Regions from separate parts of the Homo sapiens genome. Here all the other regions are linked to region 5. The links are contacts of gene promoters, found by promoter capture Hi-C in blood cells and fetal thymus (Javierre and others, 2016). All regions are on one chromosome and are shown on one strand. The core of a region is centred on a gene start or on the middle of the fragment in contact, and the rest is flanking DNA. Distances in the headings are between cores, read along the strand shown.

Region 1 (2,700 bases), core at 98-2,597, 520 kb after region 5:
TTACTTGTCAAGGAATGAGTTCATCAGTAACTTGTAATGAATCTGAAAATGTGTGTTAGGTATTTGTAAAAGTTATCTGAGTTGACTGGCAAGTTGAAGAAGTTACATATAACTGCTTCAAGACACACAATTTAATCATAAGGATCATTCTACCCTGCTTTTAGTAATTTTTTTTACACCATAAAATGAAAGGTTATAGTTCTGTACTAGTTGTCATATAAATATTTGGTTTTAAATATATTGACTTTAGCATTTGGAGAAATACCTAATGTAGATGATATAGGTTGATGGGTGCGGCAAACCACCAGGGCACGTGTATACCTATGTAACAAACCTGCATGTTCTGCACACGTACCCCATAATTTCAAGTATTATTTATATATATATATATATATATATATATATATATATATATATATATATACACACACACACACATACACACACACACATATACACATATATATATATATATACATACACATATATATATACATACATGTGTATAGACTTGACTCTCAGTATGGGATATTGAAATGTAATGTTAAATTACCAGCTCTGCCACTTACCTTCTCTGATTTTCAGTTTTTTTACCCATAAGAGTTCTTTTCCATACAAGGAAGCTTTGTTTCAAAAACGCCAATTTTTTTGTTTAAGTCAAATTGGAGTACGAGACAGAAAGGGGGCAGTCCCACCTACAAATTTTTAAACTGTAAGCAGAACTGCCTGATAGAAATGTAGTGCAGATCACAAATGCAAGTCATATATGTAATTTTATGTTTTCTTAAGCTACATCAAAAGGTAAAGACAGGTAAAATTAATTTTAGTAATAAATTTATTGAACATAATATGTCAAAAATGTTATTTGAGCATGTAATCAATATAAACATACTGAGATCATTTACATTATTTTCACACACAGTATTTGAATTCTAGTATGTATTTTACACTTATGGCATGTCTCAACTTGGACTAGCCACCTTTCAAGGGCTCGACCTAATGCCTAATGGCTACCATATTGGACAGCACAACTCTACAACGCTATAGAATAGCTTTAATGCTGATCTTACAGTGTAAATATCAAATTTACATGTTCATAGAAAATGATTTGAGTTTTCCAATAACTTTACCTCTCAATTATTCATACTTTTAGTCCCAATCTGACTGATAGTAGCTGAACCCAAGTAACTTGTTGTATTTTCCCCATTTGATTTCTGAAAGGCACTTCAGAAGTTCTATAGAAAAATGAGGACCCCTGTAGACATAAATGTTATCTTTTCACTTACTAAAACACCCAATTTTAAGTAGAGAATACTGTATATATATGGCACTTATTAAAATCAGAGAAGGCTCGGTGGGACAAAATTGTACACATAAGTATTTCTGTTACTGTCCTGTAAATCCTTCACACCTGATCTTAAAGAATCAGTTTTACTTAAACTAAAATAAGGCAAATGCTTTTCCTAGAAACTTAAGTGTGAAAGCCCCCCCTTTGAATATGAAATAATTAGATTTAAGTCTGTTGGCTTCGCTTATGGAATTTTGCACCCTCCATTTGCAGTCTGAACATTTAAACAGACCATCTGCACTTCGTATCTGGGTAACTGTGGGACTTCTCTGACCTTGACCTTGGGCAGACTGTAGCTTGCCGAACCCCACCCCCACAACCCCGCCACAGGAGATCTAGAGTCCATTTCTCAGGCCCAACCATTCATTGTTTCCTGCTGGACATTCTGAGTGCCAAGGAGAGCCCTTCCACCCTCTAAACTGCATAATAGAGAGGTGTGGCTGTGGTGGCAGTGGGAAGTCCCTCCCTCTGAATATGCCATCCCTGGGCAGTGGAGGAGAGAGGCTTTTCAACCAACATGTCCCCAGACCAGCACCAGAAAACCTTGTTGAGCCTATTCAGGATTGATGGCTGATGAGGTTCTGAGGAAATCTTTCTGGAATTTGTCCCCCCTGAACCAACCCGCCCCAAACAGTGCCCTCCCTCTCTGGTTCTGGAGTCCCTGGGGTTGCCTCATGTCGCCTCCGGTCTGAGCTCTCTGGATGGTAGACAGAGAAAGCTTTTGCTCCTGACTTCTCACTCACTTTAATTGATTTGTTTACCTTCCATTATTTTCCACTGACCTGCACAAATACTACTTTCATCAAGCTGACTACACTTCAGCTTATTAATCATAATAAGTTATTATGCAGTGATTGGATTGGTAAAATACTTCTCTCAGAATAAGGCAGCAGATATTAAAAAATGTCTAGGTTTTAATCATTATGGGTACATAATAGGTATGTATATTTATGGGGTACATGTGATGTTTTGATATAGGCATACAAGGTGTAGTAATCATGTCCAGGTAATTGGGGTATCCATCTCCTCAAGCATCTATCATTTCATTGTGTTAGGAACATTCCAATTCCACTCTTTTAGTTATTTTAAAACTTACGATAAATTATTGTTGACTATAGTCACGCTGTTGTGCTAGCTATCAAAACTAGATCTTATCCTAACTATATTTTTGCACTCATTAACCATCCCCACTCACCCAACCCCCATTCCAAGCTGCTGGTAACCATCATTCTACTCTGTATCTCCGTGAGTTCAACTGTTTTAATTTTTAGCTCTCACAAATGAGTGAGAATGTGGTTATTTGTTTCTCTGTGCCTGGCTTATTTCACATAACATAATGTCATCCAGTTCCA
Region 2 (2,700 bases), core at 35-2,534, 550 kb after region 5:
GTAGCATGTGTGTGCCGCCTCTGAAACAGGAAAGCGTTTAGCTCTTTAGGGAGCTACAGCAAGGCCTTTGGGGGACCGTCCTGGCAAACAGAGGTGGCCACTCCTTCCAGGACAGAAGCAGAGCTGTTCTACCATGAGGCTTTACATGGAAGAATGTATATGATCCTGAGGAGTCTTGATTCTAGAAAGACTGTTCTCCAAATCTCCAAGTGTACACCTGCCAGGTTTCTGGGTTGCCCTTTTCTTTTCATTCATTCTTTCACCAATGCTATGATATTTTTCTGAGCCCCTGTTATGTACCAGGCAGCAGGCTACAACTAGGATAGACACTCTAAGATTGTTTATCCAACTGTCAGCCAAAAGACATACATAGTCAGTCCTTCCAAGTACTTTGTATGGGATTGAAGTGATTTCAGTTAGATGGCTGAAGAGTGGTAAGAAAAGTTTGAGTTTCTCTAATTTAAATTACATTTTCACCATAGTCACGTTATCATTATAATTTTAGAAATGTTTCATCTTAATTTGTTGATGCTCTTCATATCTGTGTGGTAGCCTCTTAATTTGTGACCCTGTGTTTGTTTTTGCAACCTCTCAAGAAATTCATGATTGGCAAATGAACATTCAGTTGAGGAGGATCTAACAACCCTTGTGAAACATAGAGGATCATGTGTTAGCTATTGTCGATGATAATTTTACCAGGTCTGTTCTGAACCTAATAAATTTGAGCATTTATAACAGAAAACATTTAGGAGATTTCCAGTCCATGTGAACAGGAGGGAAGCAGGCCCTCTTACATTATCGATTCCCATTGGATAGCCTCAAAATGCAGCTATTTCCAATCTGCAAGTCACCAGGGTTTCCAGGGGAGGATGTGGTGATAGATTATAGCTTTTTTGGTGTCCTGTGTACAATGCCCTATCTCCCTGTGGATTCTTAGACACTTAATAACAATAATTACAATGCTTTCCCAAGCCAGATCATGGCAGATGAGTGATTCCCATCATCTTGGAAGAACTCCGCCTTAAAAACTGATGATCATTTTCCCTGACTCTTTAAAAGAAGAAATCAGAGGAAAAGAAGGGCTGATGTTTTTATTTCAGCTTGTATGCAACTCTTAGTTTTTTCTTTTTTCTTTTTTGAGTTAAGGGCCCCCTGGCCCTCCAGTGGGAATTACTTTCCTGCTGAATACAGAGAGTGAGGATATGATATGAAGGTATGCTTCCTATTCTTAATGCACATTTCCAACAATTGCTACTTTCTCAGCTCCCTTAACAATCCCCAGATCCGAGCATGTGTCCTAAAGGATGGTTCTTATTTGGGGTCTCTGTCTGTCTCTGATTTAGACACCTGTTTCTATTTATAGGTCTCTGAGATCTTTGATTAAGATCAGGTTTTCTATCCTTTCATAACTCCCCTCTGGCAGGGCAGCCCTTGCTAGCTCTTTAAAGTCTCTGGCATCAAAATCATGACGTTTTACACTGGGATAATTTGAGTTCTTAAAAGTGGATCTTAAATCCATCCCAGAACATTTTATCTTTTGATTTTTATTCATCTTTACTATATCTCTAAAATAGTGTTCATATGAATTAATCAAAGTTTTATTTTTAATCCATATTATAAATAATAATATCACAAATTTTATTTTAAAATAAGCCTTTTCTCTTCAGACCTTCCTGGCTATTAAAGGAAATCCATTTATCACAAATTTGTCATGAGAATGTTTTATCTTGGAACTGTACAAGTTTATTCAAATTAAATGGATATTTTCCCCACAACTTGGTGAAATCTTGACAATGAGATTTGATTTTTAAAAAGTTTGACTCTTTATTTTGCAGTAAATAGAGATAGAGAAGCATTTTTAGTCAATTGTGTTTCAGAAATTCCTGTAAAGAAAGACCATCTTTCAGGTCTGTACTAGACTTTGTTTTTGTTTTCAATGCAAAACTTTAATTACATCATTTTATCTACTGTTCATTTTGGTAAGTGATCTTCTATTTGTGAGTCATTTTTGTACATTAGAAATATCAGAGAACTTCCTGGCTAACACGGTGAAACCCCATATCTACTAAAAATACAAAAAAGTAGCCGGGCGTGGTGGGACGCACCTGTCGTCCCAGCTACTAGGGAGGCTGAGGCAGGAGAATCACTTGAACCTGGGAGGCGGAGCTTGCAGTGAGCCGAGATCGCGCCACTGCACTCCAGCCTGGGCAACAGAGCGAGACTCTGTCTCAAAAAAAAAAGGGGGGGGGGTTATCAGAGGACTTAAAGCAATGGAACATGTAAATAAATAGTTTAGTTTATGCCTACTTTGCCTCCTTGCCTTTTATTCAGTTTCGTTAGCTTGGGTCTTTTTGTCAACCTGTTTCTTGTTTTAACTGAAAAATACCTCGTTGTTTGGGTAGAAGACCCAAACTTGATACCTATTTTGGGAGTTAATTTGTATTTATGATTCCAGGTTTTCTCAGCTACTGTAAGTTACGTAAAACTATACTGATACAGTAATAAAAGGTGTTGTATATAGGGGAATGATAGTTGTCAAATAGTAAATTTAAAATGGAAGACTTCCTGTCTTCTTTTATTTTTTTTGTCCCTAATTTTTTTCCTTATTGGTAAAACTTTGCCTCTTGCCAATCATCCTTATTTAGCACTAAAGCTAATTGTGTAAATATCAGTTTTCTTTTTTCTTGTTGAGACAGAGTC
Region 3 (2,700 bases), core at 14-2,513, 570 kb after region 5:
GGAGGTGGAGGTTGTGGTGGCCCGGAGAGGCTCCCATATGTGTCGTTTCTGGGAATGCTCCAGTCTGAGGTGACGGCCTACCTGTGTCTTCCTTCTTTTTATGCTTGTGTTCAGAAATCCCTGTGACACCTGTCACAGACTAACAGGAAATGTGTACAGGATTCACAAGGTGATGACACTTGACTACAGATAATCTCAGGCTTGGTTTCATTGTCTTAAATAGCAATGGCAGCATAATGACAGTGTGGTTAGACTCAGTTATGCGTGGACTGCAGTTTTTCACATCCTGGCCATTGTTCCAGGATCCCTAGGTGCATTCATGGGAGCCTTTTGATGGCAAGTGCCGGAAACAAATGGTGCTCACTTAAGGAGAAAGGGGAAATGTGTTTTAAGGATATAGGAGCATCTTGTGGAATCCAAGGACAGTAGAGCAGTTGGGCCAAAAAGAAAACTGGAAATTGGAAAGCTGTCCAGACACTTTCCCTGCTGCTTCCATCTGTCCCTCCCTGAAAATCACTTCCTCCTTCCCTTCCCAGATTGACTCTCTCAGTTCTCTGAGCCTTATGTTTAGAGCACTCAAGCTATATGTTGTTACAATATCATCTCCCAAAGAGACAATAATTCTTTCAAATTCTGTAGAAGCGACTCTGGTTAGCCCAACTTGGGTCAAACTTCCACCCCAATCTATAATCAGCTGTGGCCAGAGGAGAAGGTCACATTGTACAAAATGGCTGTCAGGAGCTCACTGCTCTAACAGTGTTGGAGTTGGGATAATGGAGAGGAGAGCTGGACAGCAGCCCGACAGATGTCCGCTATAGCTCACTAGGAAGCTGATAGTTGGGGTGGTTTTATCTAGACAGCTCTGTGTTAATAAAGAAATTGGGTTGGGTTCATGGGTACAGTGAAAGCTTTTAAGAATGGGCAGTATCCCTTCCATCAATTATCTTTTCTCTCCTTAATGATCAGAAGAGCTAGAATTGTGTTTAAGTTGCCTTGGGGAGCAGAAATAGAGAAATAGACCCTCAGGTAGCAAGACTGATCTGATGCCATTAAAAAATAATAGCAGAGGGAGAGGAGTATATGAGGTTCATTAAAACCCTCTTGAAATGCTTCATGTTTAGTATTGTTCATGAAAACTTACCAAATGGAATTAAGATCAATGCACTAGAATATAGAATAAAAAAGAAGTATTTTGGATAAATTTTGTTTAATAGAACTGTTTGTTACTGAGTTGTGAGGAACTGTGTGGAAATGAGCCCTTCTGGATAATGGAGTTTTTCAGAGAAGCTATATGGTTTACATCTTTAAGTGTCAAAACATGTAATTTTTCAAAGCACTTTTGGATGCAACTCTGTCTTCTTCAGCAGAGTACATTGAAATTGATTTGAATACGAATACCTCATGCCATTATTTTACAGTGAATATTATATATGCCACAAGGAGTATGGTGATTTGTATAATACTATTCTAAATGACCCCAAATAACATGGAATTTTAAGAAACTGCTTTTTAATAATTCTTTTGTGGCTTCCTTTGCTGTTTGGGACTATACCCTGTACCCACAATAATATGTTTCTTCTGATCTGTGTGGATTTAGGAACCAGGAAAATGAAGCTTAATTGAATAATATGTAAATTAAAAGTAAATGGGGTCTGATTTGGGGTATAGAGAAAGGCTAAAATGTGCTATTTTAAGAAAGGCTAAAATGTGCTATTTTTGCACATAAATTTCATGACATTACTGTGATACCTTGAGATAGTTTTAACGTGTTTTTCCTCAGCAGTGTTCTTCATAAATGAAGCTACCATGTTACTGAGAGCCAGATGAGTGGGAAATCCTGCTGCTCATAGCTGTCTGTGACCTTTAGCAAAGTAACTTTATTCTTTTTGACAGAATGAAAGAAAAATTAAAAGCATTAAAAATTAAACTCACTTTTTGGCATAAGGTTTACATCAATCTCTACACTAAATTTTTCTAACTGCCTATATATCGTTTTTGTGAATCTAACTTTTTTTTTGTATTGGGATTAGTTTTTCTCAGCTAGCATCATGCTTTTAGAAGCATTCTGTTTCATAAGAGATATTTTAATTAATTGGCAGAATACCCTGTTGGTCTTAATTTTCTACCAGAAGTTCTGTAATAGTATGAATCTTGCTTGCTGCCCCGAATGTGTCGTGTGAAGTTGGAACAGCAGAAATGGTCCCAACCTGTATGGACCACCTGCCACATTCCAGAGGCTTTAACAGATGCTTCTGCATGTGTTGCCTCCTCTCGTTCTGTAGCAGCCCCATTGTGGGGTGGAGGGGACAGATTTCAGTTCTGTCTGAAGGATGAGAAAATAATCACTTGTCCAGGGCCATGCAGCTGGCGAGTAGCAGCGCTGCGTCTGCAGAGTGAATTACCATCAGCTCTGAGCCCCAGTTCTCCATCCTCTGCTGTTACTGCACTCACTACGCTGCTTCAGGGCGTCTGCCCTGCACTCGCCCGGCTCTGCACATACGTCTCCCACATCCCGCAGCGCACCTGATGAGGTAGAGCAGCTTCTTATCTTCACTTTACAGATGAGGAAACAGGTTTGGTACGTTCAGAGTGCATGCCCGAGATTTCCAGGTGGTAACCGATGGACCCAGGATCCAAACCCAACCCAGGACTGTCAGTCCTTAGAGCCCACACTCTAACCCATACAAGTTATCACCTCCC
Region 4 (2,700 bases), core at 168-2,667, 900 kb after region 5:
GCAGATACAGAGGCTGTTTGGGGCCATTGGTAGGTCTCATAGGTGAATCACAGTGGAGGCCTCTAGGATTGTGGAGCAAAGCCCTGACATATTCTCCAGATAACTACTCTCCTTTTGAGAGACAGCTTGTGGCCTGTTACTGGGCTTTGGTGGAAACTGAATGTTTGACTATGGGTCATCAAGTCATTATGTGACCTCAACTGCCTATCATGAACTGTGTGCTTTCTGACCCATCTGGCCATAAAGTGAGTCATGCACAGCAGCATTCCATCAGCAAATGGAAGTGGTATATTTGTCATAGGGCTTGAGCAGGTCCTGAAGGCGCAAGTAAGTTACATGAGGAAGTGGCTCAAATGCCCATGGTCCCCATTCCTGCCACCCTGCCTTCTGTCCCCCAGCCTGCACTGATGGCCTCATGGGGCGTTCCCTATGATCAGTTGACAGAGGAAGAGAAAATCAGGGCCTGGTTCATAGATGGTTCTACATGATATGTAGGCACCACCCGAAAGTGGATAGCTGCAGCACTACAGCCCCTTCCTAGGACATCCCTGAAGGACAGCAATGAAGGGAAATCTTCCCAATGGGCGGAACTTCGAGCAGCGCACCTGGCTGTGCACTTTGCATGGAAGGAGAAATGGCCAGATGTGCAATAATACACTGATTCATGGGCTGTAGCCACTGGTTTGGCTTAATGGCCAGGGACTTGTAAGAAGCATGATTGGAAAATTGGTGACAAAGACATTTGGGGAAGAGGTATGTGGATGGACCTCTCTGAGTGGTCAAAAACTGTGAAGATACTTATATCCCATGTGAGTGCTCACCAACGGGTGACCTCAGTGGAGGAGGATTTTAATAATCAAGGGGATAGGATGAACCATTCTGTTAACAGCACTCAGCCTCTTTCCCCAGCCACCCCTGTCATTGCCCAATGGGCCCATGAACAAAGTGGCCATGATGGCAGGGATGGAGGTTATGCATGGGATCAGCAACATGGACTTCCACTCATGAAGGCTGACCTGGCTATGGCCACCAATGAGTGCCCAATTTGCCAGCAGCAGAGACCAACACTGAGCCCGCAATATGACACCATTCCTCAGGAGATCAGCCAGCTACCTGGTGGCAGGTTGATTATATTGGACCTCTTGCATCATGGAAAGGGCAGAGGTTTGTCCTCACTGGAATAGACATTTACTCTGGATATGGGTTTGCCTATCCTGCATGCAATGTTTCTGCCAAGACTACCATCCGTGGACTCACGGAATGCCTTATCCACCATTATGGTATTCCACACAGCTTTGCCTCTGACCAAGGCATTCACTTTACCACTAAAGAAGTGTGGCAGTGGGTTCATGCTCATGGAATTCACTGGTCTTACCATGTTCCCCATCATCCTGAAGCAGCCGGGTTGACAGAACAGTGGAACGACCTTTTGAAATCACAACTACAATGCCGACTAGGTGACAATAGTTTGCAGGGCTGGGGCAAAGATTTCCAGAAGACCGTGTAGGCTCTGAATCAGCATCCAATATATGGTACTGTTTCTCCCGTAGCCAGGAATCACGGGTCCAGGAATCAAGGGGTGGAAGTGGAAGTGGCACCACTCACCATCACCCCTAGTGATCCACTAGCAACATTTTTGCTTCCTGTTTCTATGGCATTACATTCTGCTGGTCTAGAGGTCTTAGTTCCAGAGGGAGAAACGCTGCCACCAGGAGACAAAACAATTCCATTAAACTATAAGTTAAGATTGCCACCTGGACACTTTGGGCTCCTCCTACCTCTAAGTTAACAGACTAAGAAGGGAGTTACAATGTTAGCTGGGGTGACTGACCCAGACTATCAAGATGAAATCAATCAGTCTACTACTCCACAGTGGAGGTAAGAAAGAGTACACATGGAACACAGGAGATCCATTAGTTCGTCTCTTAGTATTACCCTGTGATTAAGGTCAATGGGAAACTACAACAGCCCAATCCAGGCAGGACTACAAATGGCCCAGACCCTTCAGGAATGAAGGTTTGGGTCACTCCACCAGGAAAAAAAAACCACCACCTGTTCAGGTACTTGCTGAAGGCAAAGGGAATACAGAATGGGTAGTAGAAAAAGGTAGTCATCAATACCAGCTATGAGCACATGACCAGCTGCAGAAACGAGGACTGTGATTGTCATGAGAATTTCCTCCTTCTTTTGTTAAAAACATGTTTGTGCATGCATACACTTGTACTAAGAAAATATCTTCATTTTATTTCCTTTTCCTTTATCATGTGATATGAGATTCACTGACTTCATATCAGCATTTAAGTATTGTTAACTTTATGTAATAGTATGTGAGTTGGGGACTGCATTTCCAGTTGTACAAAGGACAGTTCAGTTATGTTAGACATAATTATGACCTTATTATTGTCTTATTTGAAGATTATGAATGATCTCAGGAGATGTGTATGGGTTCAAGTTGTCAAGGGGTGGACTTGTGATGGTTAATACTGAGGGTCAACTTGATTGGATTGAAAGATGCAATATTGATCATTGTCAGGTTGTTACCCAAGGAGATTAACATTTGAGTCAGTGGGCTGGGGAAGGCAGATCCACCCTTAATTGAGTTGGCACCACCTAAACCGCTAACAGGGAATATAAAGCAGGCAGAAAAACGTGAAGAGGCAAGATAGGCCTAGCCTCCCAGCCTACATCTTTCTCTTGTGC
Region 5 (2,700 bases), core at 124-2,623:
AAATTAAGAATAGAGTAACATCAAATCTTTCCATTGTAAAAGTAAATAAAATCTCAAAACAGTATCATGTGGTCTATTTCATTCACATACATATCCTTGTATGTAACACCCTTAAATTAAGATGTATTATTCCACATTTTAAAACTACTTGTATTTAAAGGTGACTGATAAACAAGAGGCCAAGAATGTTAGCTTTCCTGATGGTAATCAAACGTGGCACTTCCTTAACGTTCTGATGACCAGGCTCCTTACTCAGAGTCTAATTTTGTTTGGAGTGGTGTCCAGAAAAGTGCCACGAGCCCAGTTGGAGAAACACCGCTTTAAACAAAGAGCACAAAAAGTGAGCTCTGAAGTCGAATCCTTAGCTATGCCATTTACTGGGAATATAAAGGGCAAGGAGCTAGCCTCCTTATCTCTAACATGGGAATTCTGTCTACTTTATACAGCTGTCATTAGGATTAAACGACGTGGGCTATCCGTCCCAACACAATGCCTGGCACATATCAGGGTTCAATGTCTTGCCCTAAAGCACCACCTGCGTAAAGGCATACCCTTTAATACTAATTTTGATATTACACAAGTTTCTTTGGGTTATGGCACCTGCTTTCTTCCCACTTCTGGAAACATCGTGATGTTATTTAGCAAATCGGTTATACAGATATGCATACGAGCAACTTCGTTAAGGGAACTACCCAACGTAAAACATAATCAATACTTGAACTAATTTAATCTTCCCATTCCACCCCTTGTAACCACCTCATTTGTTGTCACAAGCCTCTCACTAAAATTAAACTAAAACAGAATTACCAGACACCAAAACTTGACACGTAAAACCAGTGCGAGTGATTTATGAAGCCATTATTCTGTTTGCATCTCCAAAAGCAAGACAGAAACTTCTAACACATTTTTCTCTTCCTTGACATGGGCCTTGGACGCAGAAGCCAAATAGCGAAACCACCCGAACTCGCCGGACCCTGCCCTCCCAAAGACTAAGGACACGTACAGGCGTGCTGTGAAAACGTGGGTGTAAAATATGAAAACGTTTGGCGATTTTCCAGACTCAAACCGCCAAACCACAACTCGTTAGTCTCCAAACGCTACACTTGGAATGCAGCAAAGTCCCGGGTGGTGAGCTGTGGCTACTCACGGCTTTGGAGGTGCCACCAGGAACAAGGGATTTCCAAAGATCAAAGTAAGGAACTTCCTCACCACCAACCTCCCTGTTGTGCCCCTTACCCCTACACCAGCTCAAAGGACTGCTTCTGAGAGCTCTAGGCTTCCTCAGCTCCTCGGATGGCAGCCGATTGGTAAGGAAATAAAGACAGGGAAAAGAGAACAACATCCATACCTGCAGACAACGTCCCCGGAAGAGGAAGAAAAAAGCCTTTGCCAGTTCAAAGGTCAAATAGAATTGCGCAGGACAGGAAGTTGCGTCAGAGAGAGAGTATCCGTGTTGTACGGAAGCCGACGCACCTCTCCGACGTGGGCAGAGATGCAGGGAACCACCACGTTGTACGGCAACCAACGTGCCGCCCCTCTGTGGGCGGGGATTCACACTAGCTGTCTGTGTCAAGGCCACGCAGAAATCTATTGGAAATCGCTGTGGAAACAAACGCAAATGAAAAGCCGCAAAGAGCAAAGGTGGGACAAAATCAACTTCTTTCGTTGTCATGGACACTGCACTTTTAATCTAAAGGGCGCCAGCTCTGGCGTTAGACCTGGGTTTAAATCCCAACTCTTGACATTTATGGTTAAGGGACCTTCAAGGACCAGGGACCTTCAAGAACCTTCCCTTCTTCAACCTTCCCTTCTCTTTCCTTGTCATTTATTCAGAGCACAAGCTTTACAAACAAATTGGGATTTTAATCCAGTGTCTGCTAATTATTAGCTATGTTACTTTGAGCAAGCCCTTAAATCTCTAAAAGGAAGATATTAGGAACTACCGTGCCATGTTATGTCATGATCAAAGGCATTATGAAGTTAAAGCACTTAGCACAGGGTCTTATAGAGAGGAAGTGCTCAGTAAATGGTTGCTAATCTTATGATTATGTACAAAGAACTACTTGAGGCTTTTCATGGGTGGTAAAGTTTAACCTTTAAAACAGTATGTAAAATTTTACATTAAGCGCACGTGTGTATTTTTCTGAGAAGAGGGTCCCTGGCTTTCATCACCTTGTCAAAGGGATTCATGACCTCTAAAAAAGTAAAGAACTCTTTGCCTGGGCTGTAAAAGACAATTCTAAAAGGGGCCTTTAAGTTTTTAATCTTAGATCAGGCTCCCTGGAAACACACCTCGAAGAGACTTGAGTGTTGGCTTATGGGGAGCGCTCTTAGAATGCACCTCCAGGAAGCTGAGAAAGGCGGGGTCAGGTGATCCACAACGTGGTTGCTGTGAGGCAGCTGCATTGCCCCAGAAGAGAGGATTTGGATAGGATATCCCAGTACCCACTCAACTTTCCTTCTAGTATTTCTAATCCATCTAGCAAACCAAGAAAGCAGGCAAGTGACTGAGGGCATGTAGTCTGTCTTGAACTGTGAGGCCTATTGATTCTATCAAGCCTCACATCACTGCCATCTTTGTCACAACACCAGATGGAAGGCTCTGGTTATATCCTTCCCTCTGCTCACTCTCAAATAGCTGCTTCTCCCCCGACCTTGTCATCAGCTACTTCCCTCCTTTCCAGTCCTTTGATTTTTGTC

What was found. The method cuts DNA at HindIII sites, captures the fragments that hold promoters and counts their contacts. A CHiCAGO score of 5 or more calls a contact.
Region 1: a fragment that was not itself captured here is called in contact with the fragment with the promoter of RPL34 in region 5 in 7 of 17 cell types (fetal thymus, naive CD4 T cells, naive CD8 T cells and 4 more); the score reaches 13.8 in fetal thymus.
Region 2: a contact is called between a fragment that was not itself captured here and the fragment with the promoter of RPL34 in region 5, in 8 of 17 cell types (fetal thymus, naive CD4 T cells, activated CD4 T cells and 5 more). The highest score is 12.7, in fetal thymus.
Region 3: a fragment that was not itself captured here is called in contact with the fragment with the promoter of RPL34 in region 5 in 9 of 17 cell types (megakaryocytes, naive CD4 T cells, fetal thymus and 6 more); the score reaches 21.6 in megakaryocytes.
Region 4: a contact is called between a fragment that was not itself captured here and the fragment with the promoter of RPL34 in region 5, in 6 of 17 cell types (total B cells, total CD8 T cells, naive B cells and 3 more). The highest score is 15.6, in total B cells.

Annotation. Positions count from the first base shown.
Region 1 is chr4:108,097,295-108,099,994 of GRCh38, reverse strand. The region is part of intron 3 of LEF1 (lymphoid enhancer binding factor 1); the gene reads left to right. Among named protein-coding and RNA genes, the nearest start is that of LEF1-AS1, 69 kb to the left of the region's middle. The HindIII fragment of the contact is 1,443 bases long and covers 626-2,068 here.
Region 2 is chr4:108,073,374-108,076,073 of GRCh38, reverse strand. All of the region lies in intron 8 of LEF1 (lymphoid enhancer binding factor 1), which reads left to right. Among named protein-coding and RNA genes, the nearest start is that of HADH, 85 kb to the right of the region's middle. The HindIII fragment of the contact is 8,586 bases long and covers 1-2,700 here.
Region 3 is chr4:108,054,086-108,056,785 of GRCh38, reverse strand. All of the region lies in intron 11 of LEF1 (lymphoid enhancer binding factor 1), which reads left to right. Among named protein-coding and RNA genes, the nearest start is that of HADH, 66 kb to the right of the region's middle. RefSeq lists an enhancer at 1-311. The HindIII fragment of the contact is 706 bases long and covers 911-1,616 here.
Region 4 is chr4:107,722,984-107,725,683 of GRCh38, reverse strand. No RefSeq gene overlaps it. Among named protein-coding and RNA genes, the nearest start is that of PAPSS1, 4.1 kb to the right of the region's middle. The HindIII fragment of the contact is 4,310 bases long and covers 1-2,700 here.
Region 5 is chr4:108,619,249-108,621,948 of GRCh38, reverse strand. RPL34 (ribosomal protein L34) reads right to left here and starts at 1,373. Exons shown (of 5, transcript NM_001319236.2): 1 at 1,349-1,373. RPL34-DT (RPL34 divergent transcript) reads left to right here and starts at 1,492. Exons shown (of 4, transcript NR_026968.1): 1 at 1,492-1,641. RefSeq lists enhancers at 1,361-1,410, 636-1,835. The HindIII fragment of the contact is 3,742 bases long and covers 1-1,843 here.